3 separate regions of the Homo sapiens genome follow, and regions 1 and 2 are each linked to region 3. Evidence: promoter capture Hi-C in 16 types of primary human blood cells and fetal thymus (Javierre and others, 2016). All regions are on one chromosome and are shown on one strand. Each heading gives the region's core, a stretch centred on a gene start or on the middle of the fragment in contact. The rest is flanking DNA. Distances are from core to core; before and after follow the strand shown.

Region 1 (2,700 bases), core at 129-2,628, 580 kb after region 3:
GGCTTATGTGTGTACTTAATTTAACCCTCATCCTTTAAGGTAGATATTAGTACCCCTATTTTTTAAAAAAATTATTTATTTATTTTTAAGGCAGAGTCTCGCTCTGTCGCCCAAGCTGGAGTGCAGTGGTACGATCTCAGCTCACTGCAACCTCCGCCTCCCAGGTTCAAGCGATTCTCTGCCTCAGCCTCCTGAGTTGCTGGGATTACAGTCATGCGCTACCACACTCAGCTAAGTTTTTATATTTTTGGTAGAGCCGGCGTTTCACCCATGTTGACCAGGCTGGTCTGAAACTTCTGACCTCAAGTGATCCGGCTGCCTCGGCCTCCCCAAGTGCTGGGATTACAGGCGCGAGCCACCCCGCCTGGCTAGTACCCCTATTTTTGTAATGAAGAAGCTGAGGTACAAAGAGGTTAAACAACCTGCTCAAAATTACGAAGTAGAAGCCTGAGGTGGGGTATGGTAATTTGTGATTCTACATTTATCCACCATATTAAGTCAACTGTGTTAAATCATGTTGAAGGAAGATGATGCGCTGTGATCTGTAATATTGGTGCAGTTCAGCATTACCGTGGTGCAGTGTCAAGTTCCAAAAGACACAAAACTGTCTGATCGGCCTGTAGCGCATCACCGCCCACCAGCAGTACCTGAAGACGCTTTCAGTCCCCTGCTAGTGCCGTACGGAGTCCGGGCTGGTCCATTTACATTGAAAACAAACTGATCCTAGCATCTAAGTCACCCAGACATCTTTTAGGCGGCAAGCTTTTCAGACAGTTTAACACATTTATTCTTGTTTTTTCAAAAAGAGCAAACACGTGGCGTTACAAAGGTCCTCCGTTTCGCACGCACCGGTGTCCCGGCAGCGCGCTGCGCGTCGGGAGGCCCAGTCTGTCGTCCCGTGGGGCCGGGGGTCAGGAGGTCGGGCAGGCGGGATTTGGGGTTTCGCGTGTTCCGGACCGGACACTTCGCCATCTTAACGAGCTACCGCCCGGGTTAAGGGGCACCCAGGGCAGGTGCCCGGCCGGGGGTGGGGTGTCCGAGCCGCCGGTGCCTGGACGTGGACCCCTGCAGGAAGGGTCCGCGCGGGAAGCGAGCTCTCCACGAGTCCATGACAGCAGGCCCGCGGGGGCAGGGAGCCTGCGCCAGGCAGTCTTTCTAGATCCTGGCCCAGCCTGGCCGCTTTCGCGCCCGTGCTCCTTTTCGGGGATCCTAGAGCGACGCGCAGAGCGGACCAAGGGTTCCCCCAGCGCGTTCTCGCCGCCTGGCAGCTCGCTGGCCACGCCCCTCCGCTTCCACCCTGCCACCGGCCCCCGCCGCCGCAAATGTCGCGAGACCTTCGTCCATCCTCCCGGCGTGGTCCCGCTGCCCACGGCGTCCAGAGCGCGCACGCAAGCCCCGGGAGCGCGGGACAGACAGGGCACGCTGGGTCGGCGGAGCTGAGGCTCCCAGCTGTGGGCCTCGCTGGCCCGGTCGCCCAGTCTCGCGAGAGTTGGGAGTAAACAGCCCCGAATGGAGTGCCCAGGCGTGTTCGCCGCGGAGGCGCCGTTATCCCGGGCCCGCCGGCCCTGAGCTCCCGGCGGCGCAGGTACGTCAGCCGCCCGCGCGCGGCCTCCCCGACCCGCTCCGCCTAGCGGCGGCGGCCCGCTCGCTCAGGTGTGCCGGTTGCGTCCGAGGCCCCGAGGCGAGGGCTGCGGGGGCCGGGCCGGGTCGGGGGAGGTGGGCGCGGGGCCTCCGGCGCTTGTTTGGACACAGCGTGCCTGTACCGCGGCCCTGCGGGGGTCTGCGCGCTCCGGCAGCTTGTTCCGTTGCCTGGTTTTCTTTACGTGAAATGAGCATTCACCGAGTGAAACAATACGCCCTGCTCTGGCCCGGAGCCTCCAGACAGACTCAATTCTAGGTGCGCTTCCGGGGCAGTGCTGGCGTCAGGTTTAAAAGACGTCGATTCTTTGCCTTATCTCGGTCTGTGCATATTGCGCTGCTGGTTTTTGGAAATGCGGGGATTCTGTTCGGCGAACTCTCAGAACCAGATTGCCTTTTAAACCTGTAGCTTCTTAAAAATCTTGCCTCGCCTTGGCATGGTTGCGCTACCTAAGACCGTTGTGGATCGTCAGTATTTTTATTAAGATGTTTACCTTTCATATTGGGTTGAGCCCCTGAGAATCTTGGCCTATTTGTCTACACAAATTAAGTTATTAGATTCTGATTGACACTTCGAAATTACGTGGAGTGGAATACGACCTGCGTTGAATTCTGGAGACTCATCCTTTAGTCTGAACTGTGTAGGTAAGCCCTCCTAACGTCAAGGTCTCCAATTGTATGTCTACGAAAAGGAGGGCTTGCAGAAGAGAAGTAATTCCTCTCATTTTTTTTTTTTTCAATCTGGAGAATCCGCTTTTATTATTTATACTTATTTTTTAATGTAAGAGCTTCATTGAAGTAGAATTTACATACCATAAAATCCACCTGTTTTAAGTGTACTATTCAGTGGTTTTTAGTAAATTTACAGCAGCACAGCCACTACCAAATCCACTTTTAGAACATTTCCGTTACCCCAAGACCTCTGATGCCCAGTTGTAGTCAATGCCCATTTCCAGGCCCCGCCACAGGCAACCTTTCATCTACTTTGTCTTTCTAGATTTGCCTTTAATGACTATTTCGTATATTCAGATGGAAACATATGATATGCGGCCTTTTGTGTCA
Region 2 (2,700 bases), core at 139-2,638, 610 kb after region 3:
GTGACTTCTGTACCAGCCTCTGCTCCTTGAGTTCCTGGGAATGTGTAAACATCTAGCATCAGTCATCAGAAAATCATTATTCGTTCCTCTGAATGACCAGCTGGTAGGATATTGGTGGCCAGTGGGCTGAGGAGGCAGTACCACTTTTTCTCGGTGTGTTGGGAATTGTCAGTTAAAAACACACTCTAGAAGGAGAACTTCATGCTGCTATTATCTCTTAAGCCACTTGGAATCAGTTGTATGTAGTTGTTGATTTGTCAAAGAGTTCATTTTTTTTGGTAGTGGAGCCATAATAAAGCTTAGCAATGCAGTTTTATAACTGAGTGTCTCATATTTTCAAATGGTTCATCTTTATCTTGACTTTACGGTTTACACATTTTTGCCATTATTTATTTCACTATAATTTCTTTGCAGATCTAGTGCACTTAAGGTATTGGAGAGACTCTAAGGAGCTCAAGATTACAGAGTAATGATAGTCCTTCTACAGTTCCCTATGAGGAGGGTAGAACACCACCACAGGTCAATCGAAAACTTACCACTTCCTGACCTTGGCAGATGTAAATGTGTGGTTATGGTTTCTTCCAGGAGAAGTGTGTGATTTAGCTGGGGAGTTAAGATGAATGTGCTGGGAACAATTTGAAAGTGATGTGAGAATGTGTCGTTAGGTGATAAATTGTGATTGTGTTAAGTGTTGTGAGGTTCAAGGCAAGTACAGATGCTTAAGGCTTGGATTGCTGGAGGGAAAACGTGAGCCTTGAGCCCCAGTGTGCCAAGTTGACAGGGAGGAGAAGAAAGGAGGGGCGTTGCAGGTGAGAGGGCGTAATGTGAGCACAGCATGAACGTGGCAGGATCATGCGTTTCACAGGACAGCCGTGAGGAGCTGCACACGTCTTCCCACAGAAGCAGCTCATACAGTGTTAGATTGTTCTGGGAGTATTCGCCCTGGTTTGAATCATCCATTTTAAATTATTTCTCTTGTTTTTTTCTTTTTCTTTTCTTTTTTTTTTTTTTTGGTCTCAATATAGCACTCTGAATAACCCTGCTGATCAAATGGATGTGATTGGAGTAGGCGGCATTGACTTTGAAGATAACATCGCCCGCTTTTCTTCAAGGGGAATGACTACCTGGGTACGCTCTTCTTTGCTAAATAATTGTATTTAGCTGGACAAACTACTGTGGCTAGTGGCACCGGTTGTTGACGAGCCTTGGGGTGTATTTGTAAGTGCACAGACACCCTCACATTCACATGGGAATAGCCGGGGCTGTGAGTGCCTGCCCAGCCGTGAGGACGAGAGATCTGGGCCCCGTCAGCATCTGCCACTTCACTCTGGCAAGTCCACAGCTGCTGTGATGAGCACCGGCTGATTCTAAGCGGTGTTTCCCAGTTTAACTTATTAATTGATTTCTGAGGAACTCACCTTTAGGTGAATTGGGTTCCTGCCCGTTTACCCTATCTAGTAGTGGTAAGCAGTCCTCCTCAGTGGTAGGTGAGATGATATTTTTTGGGGGAGGGGAGCCTTAAGAAGTTGGAGAAACCATTGAGAACAGCTTAATATCAACTCTGCTAACACAGAAACAATTGTATTTAGCTGGACAAATTCAAAATAACTGCTACAGTTAATAATTCAGCTGTTTGGGGTTTAATTATGCAGCACATTCACCCACCTTTACCTGTCAAAGTTTGATGAAAAATTAGACGCTCGTGCAGAACAGCAGTTGGGCACCTTTGCCCTCGCTGTGGCCGAGGGGAGCATCTGCCCTTCTCATTCTTCAGGGTCAGAGCATCTCTTGGTGTTTAACGTCACATGCCACACTCGGAGGCCTCAGATAAGTCCCTGGAAAGATTCCCAACTGCCTGGGAACACTGTGGGCCTCGTCCACACTGTAGCCACTTTACAGGATAGCCTTCTGCCTGAGCCTTTGTCCTGTGACAGCGTCAGCCCCCAGCGTCCCCGCCACTCAGCCCCACCAGGGGTCCCCGCCTCCCACACTCACGTGCCTCTTCCTGGAGCTGACCTGTTGGCTGGGGACCATTCTCTCATGTGACAGTCTGTGCAGGGCAGGCTGCGTGTCCTCCCATCCACGCTCCCTCAGCATGTTCCTTGTGCTGCCGGATAATGGGAAACTGCATCCACCACTTTGTCCCCAGCTCCCTGTGTAAATGCTCTCACCGAACTGTGGTGAGATGTCATCCACTTTGTCCCCAGCTCCCCGTGTAAACGCTTTCACCAAACCGTGATGAGATGTCACGTCCATGGCCTTCATCACCAGCCAGCTTTTTAATGGCATTTGAGAAATGTCCTTCCATCATCACAGCTGCAGTGGAGGATGCCTTTACTCGGTATCCCAGTATGTGCATCCATGGTCCTTGGGTTTGATGGTCAGAAAAGGGCTTCCCTTCAAATTGGGCTCCTGTTTTCTGACAGAATATGAGATCCTATTCTAATTTTCGTTTTGCCCCAATTCTTAAGAAGCTTAAGCAAGTACTTATTAAAACGTTATCCCAAGTTAGTCGTGTGGTTATCTTGTTCCTTCTCAGTGGTTTCTTATTTCCTCTTTTACAACCGTTTGAAACATCCACTCATACCGTGTACTTTTTTCCTTGTAAAGAAACATGTTTGGGTTTTTTTACATTTTAATTTTCTAATTTTTCTAACATATTTCTAATTTTAACTTATCTAGAGATAAAGCAGTTTCCAG
Region 3 (2,700 bases), core at 106-2,605:
GTAAATGAATAAGGGAACAAAACGTTAAAGGGGGAAATTCTGATGCAAACTAAACTACAGCTAATTTAACAAAATTGAAGCTTGTCGTAAGATCTAATTTTTTAAAAAGTTTTCGCATTTTAGATTCCACAACACGCATTCATTACAATAGTTCCGAAAATCATGTTTCAAAAGAGGTGTAGTCAGATTGACTTCATCTGCAGAAGGGCAACAAAACCCAATTGCTCATGAAGGGTTATGATTTTACTCGCAATCAGTTTCCCGAATGGCTACTTTGTTTCATTTCCCCATATTTAATACAAATACACAATGAGATGGTTTAAAAGTGTGCAACAATTTATAGGGACCAGATGTCAACAAATTAGCAGTCTAAAGCAAGGCTGACAAATAATACATCATGCCGATTTTTGTCCAGAATAATTATAATGGCGGAGGGGGGAGAAGATGTGAGAGAAGGGGTGGGAGAGGGGAATAAGAGCTTAACTCTACACGCACATCTCCCAAAAAGAGCTCTTTCTTTCCACCACGGGATTATTGTAAAGGGCCCCCAAGCTTTAGCTACTGTTCAGGCAGGGTGCGTTAGTTGTCAGCCTGGCTGGGATGGATTCGTGCAAGGGATGTCACTCAAACGCAAGTGAAAGTACGGTCCTTGCGACTTATTTCGAGTTTTCTTTGCAACAGCAGCCCAAGGCCGCTACTCTGCTACTTCTATCTAAAAAACAGAAAATCGGCAACCCCCGCATCATCAATCAAGCTGAGAAAGGAAGCTCTTGGGGCAAAGGGGCAACAGGGCACCCCCAAATCTCTGAGGCTCGCTCCAGGCAGAGGCAGCAACCTGAGCTGCTCTGGGGCCCCTGCGCTCCAGGGGACTCCCGGAGCCCCCGGGCCGCCTCCCCCGGCCGGCGCGGCGGGGAGGGCCCCACTCCACACCCCGGGCTCGCCCCGCGGTCCAGCCCCAGGGAGGTTAACCCCTTCGGCGCCCTCCACGCCCTCCCCAAGCGGGGCCCGGAGCCCCCGCCCTTCGACCTCCCCGGGACTAGGGGGTCCGGGTGGCTCAGGGGACGAAGGCGCGGCGGGCGCGGAGGCGGCGGGTGGCTCCGGCCTAGGCCCGGGCAGCGTGTCCCAGCGCCCTCCCCCACTCCCACACGCTCGCTCCGGGCAGGGCGCGGACGCCCGCCCGCCGCGGCGTCCGCCCGCCCGGGGCTCGGGCCCCTTCCGGCCGAAGGCGCAGACCGGCGGCTACCTGCGGGCTGTGGAGGGCCATGGCTGCCCGTTTCATTGGGACTCCGCGATCCTCCGGCTGCTCACGCTGCTTCCCCCGCCGCCGCCATCTTCTCGCCCGCACATACACACTCGCATCGGCCGCCGCGCCTGCGCACTGGCCGCGCGCCGCGGGGCGCGGGGAGGCCGGCCCGCTGCTGCGCCTGCGCGGCCGACAGGTGGGCGTGCGCCTGCCGGGCCGCGGACATCCCCTGCCCCGCCTGGAGCCTGCCGGACTCTGAGCCCCGCGACCCTCGGGCGGAAGCGGCCGGGCGGCTGCACACCAGGAGCCCGCCGAGGCCTGGCTGTGGATCCGGAAGGGGAGAGGGCAGGCAGGTAGAGGTGGCAACGCCAAGGCGCCGGCGGGCCCGGCTCCTCACCTACTGGGGGCCACCTGGGCCCCCGGAGCCCGGGAGTCGCGGGCTGAGGTCGGCCTGGGGCCCACGAGCCGCCCTCAGCGTACCTGGGCCCGGGCCTCGGGAGTGTTCGCATTAGATCCCCGAGGAGGGTCTGGTTTATGAAGATCCCGTTGCCGCGCATTCATTCATTTGTTCACTCTTCATTCACTCCCCAAGTCCTGCCTGGGCGCCTGGGCCACGCCTTTGGCTAGGCATTAGGGGAAAAAAGCAAAACAGACAAAAACAAAACGTAGGGCATAAAAGCACGCGTAAAGTGCTTGACATGAGGCCTGGCAAGTAGCAAACACTCAGCAAGTGCTACGTGTTGCACACGTGCGTGCGTGTGCACGGGCAAACCAGCCTTGGGGGTCGTTGGTTCATTCATTATTAAGAAACAGGGGCCCCTGCCTAACTGCACTGTTTTCCAGCCAGTGGGTCCACCCTTGGGTTTTGGCCCCTTTTCTAGCTGTGATTTCAGACAAGCGACTTTCCTTCCCTAAGCCTTGGTTTCCTCACCTGTGAATAAGACAAATATGTCATAACGCGTAAGATTTCTGTGAGGTTCAAATTAGATTAACGTGAGCACACTGGCCAAGAGAATAGTCAATAAAAATTGGCTACTGGGATTGTTATTAATAACCATTACTATTGGTTTCATTTATTCAACAAACACCTACAGAGAGTCTGCTCTTGCTAGACCGTACACTGAGCAGAGGAGATGAACAGGAAGATCCATTCCCACGTTACATAAAATAGGGAGCCTGGTCTCTTCATAAATGGGATGCCATGAAAAATATAAGTGGGCCAGGCGCAGCGGCTCACACCCGGAATCCCACACATTGGGAGGCCGAGGCGGGCGGATCACTTGAAGTCAGGAGTTGGAGACCAGCCTGGCTAATATGATGAAACCCCAACTCTACTAAAAATACAAAAATTGGTGGGATGTAGTGTGGCACACCAGGCGTCCCAGCTACTCAGGAGGCTGAGGTGGGAGGATCACTTGAACCCCGGAGACGGAGGTTGCGGTGAGCCGAGATCGTGC

The links. The method cuts DNA at HindIII sites, captures the fragments that hold promoters and counts their contacts. A CHiCAGO score of 5 or more calls a contact.
Region 1: the fragment with the promoter of MBTPS1 here is called in contact with the fragment with the promoter of USP10 in region 3 in 4 of 17 cell types (total CD4 T cells, non-activated CD4 T cells, naive CD8 T cells and 1 more); the score reaches 7.8 in total CD4 T cells.
Region 2: a fragment that was not itself captured here is called in contact with the fragment with the promoter of USP10 in region 3 in 1 of 17 cell types (fetal thymus); the score reaches 5.5 in fetal thymus.

Annotation. Positions count from the first base shown.
Region 1 is chr16:84,115,620-84,118,319 of GRCh38, reverse strand. MBTPS1 (membrane bound transcription factor peptidase, site 1) reads left to right here and starts at 1,378. Exons shown (of 23, transcript NM_003791.4): 1 at 1,378-1,585. It overlaps MBTPS1-DT (MBTPS1 divergent transcript), which reads right to left and starts at 1,277. Exons shown (of 1, transcript NR_186375.1): 1 at 1-1,277. RefSeq lists an enhancer at 648-807 and silencers at 958-1,057, 1,458-1,887. The HindIII fragment of the contact is 14,847 bases long and covers 765-2,700 here.
Region 2 is chr16:84,085,786-84,088,485 of GRCh38, reverse strand. It overlaps MBTPS1 (membrane bound transcription factor peptidase, site 1), which reads left to right. Exons shown (of 23, transcript NM_003791.4): 9 at 1,026-1,128. Among named protein-coding and RNA genes, the nearest start is that of MBTPS1, 30 kb to the left of the region's middle. The HindIII fragment of the contact is 2,176 bases long and covers 301-2,476 here.
Region 3 is chr16:84,698,655-84,701,354 of GRCh38, reverse strand. USP10 (ubiquitin specific peptidase 10) reads right to left here and starts at 1,355. Exons shown (of 14, transcript NM_005153.3): 1 at 1,244-1,355. The coding sequence starts at 1,264. RefSeq lists silencers at 784-893, 934-1,043, 1,054-1,273, 1,364-1,883. The HindIII fragment of the contact is 5,859 bases long and covers 555-2,700 here.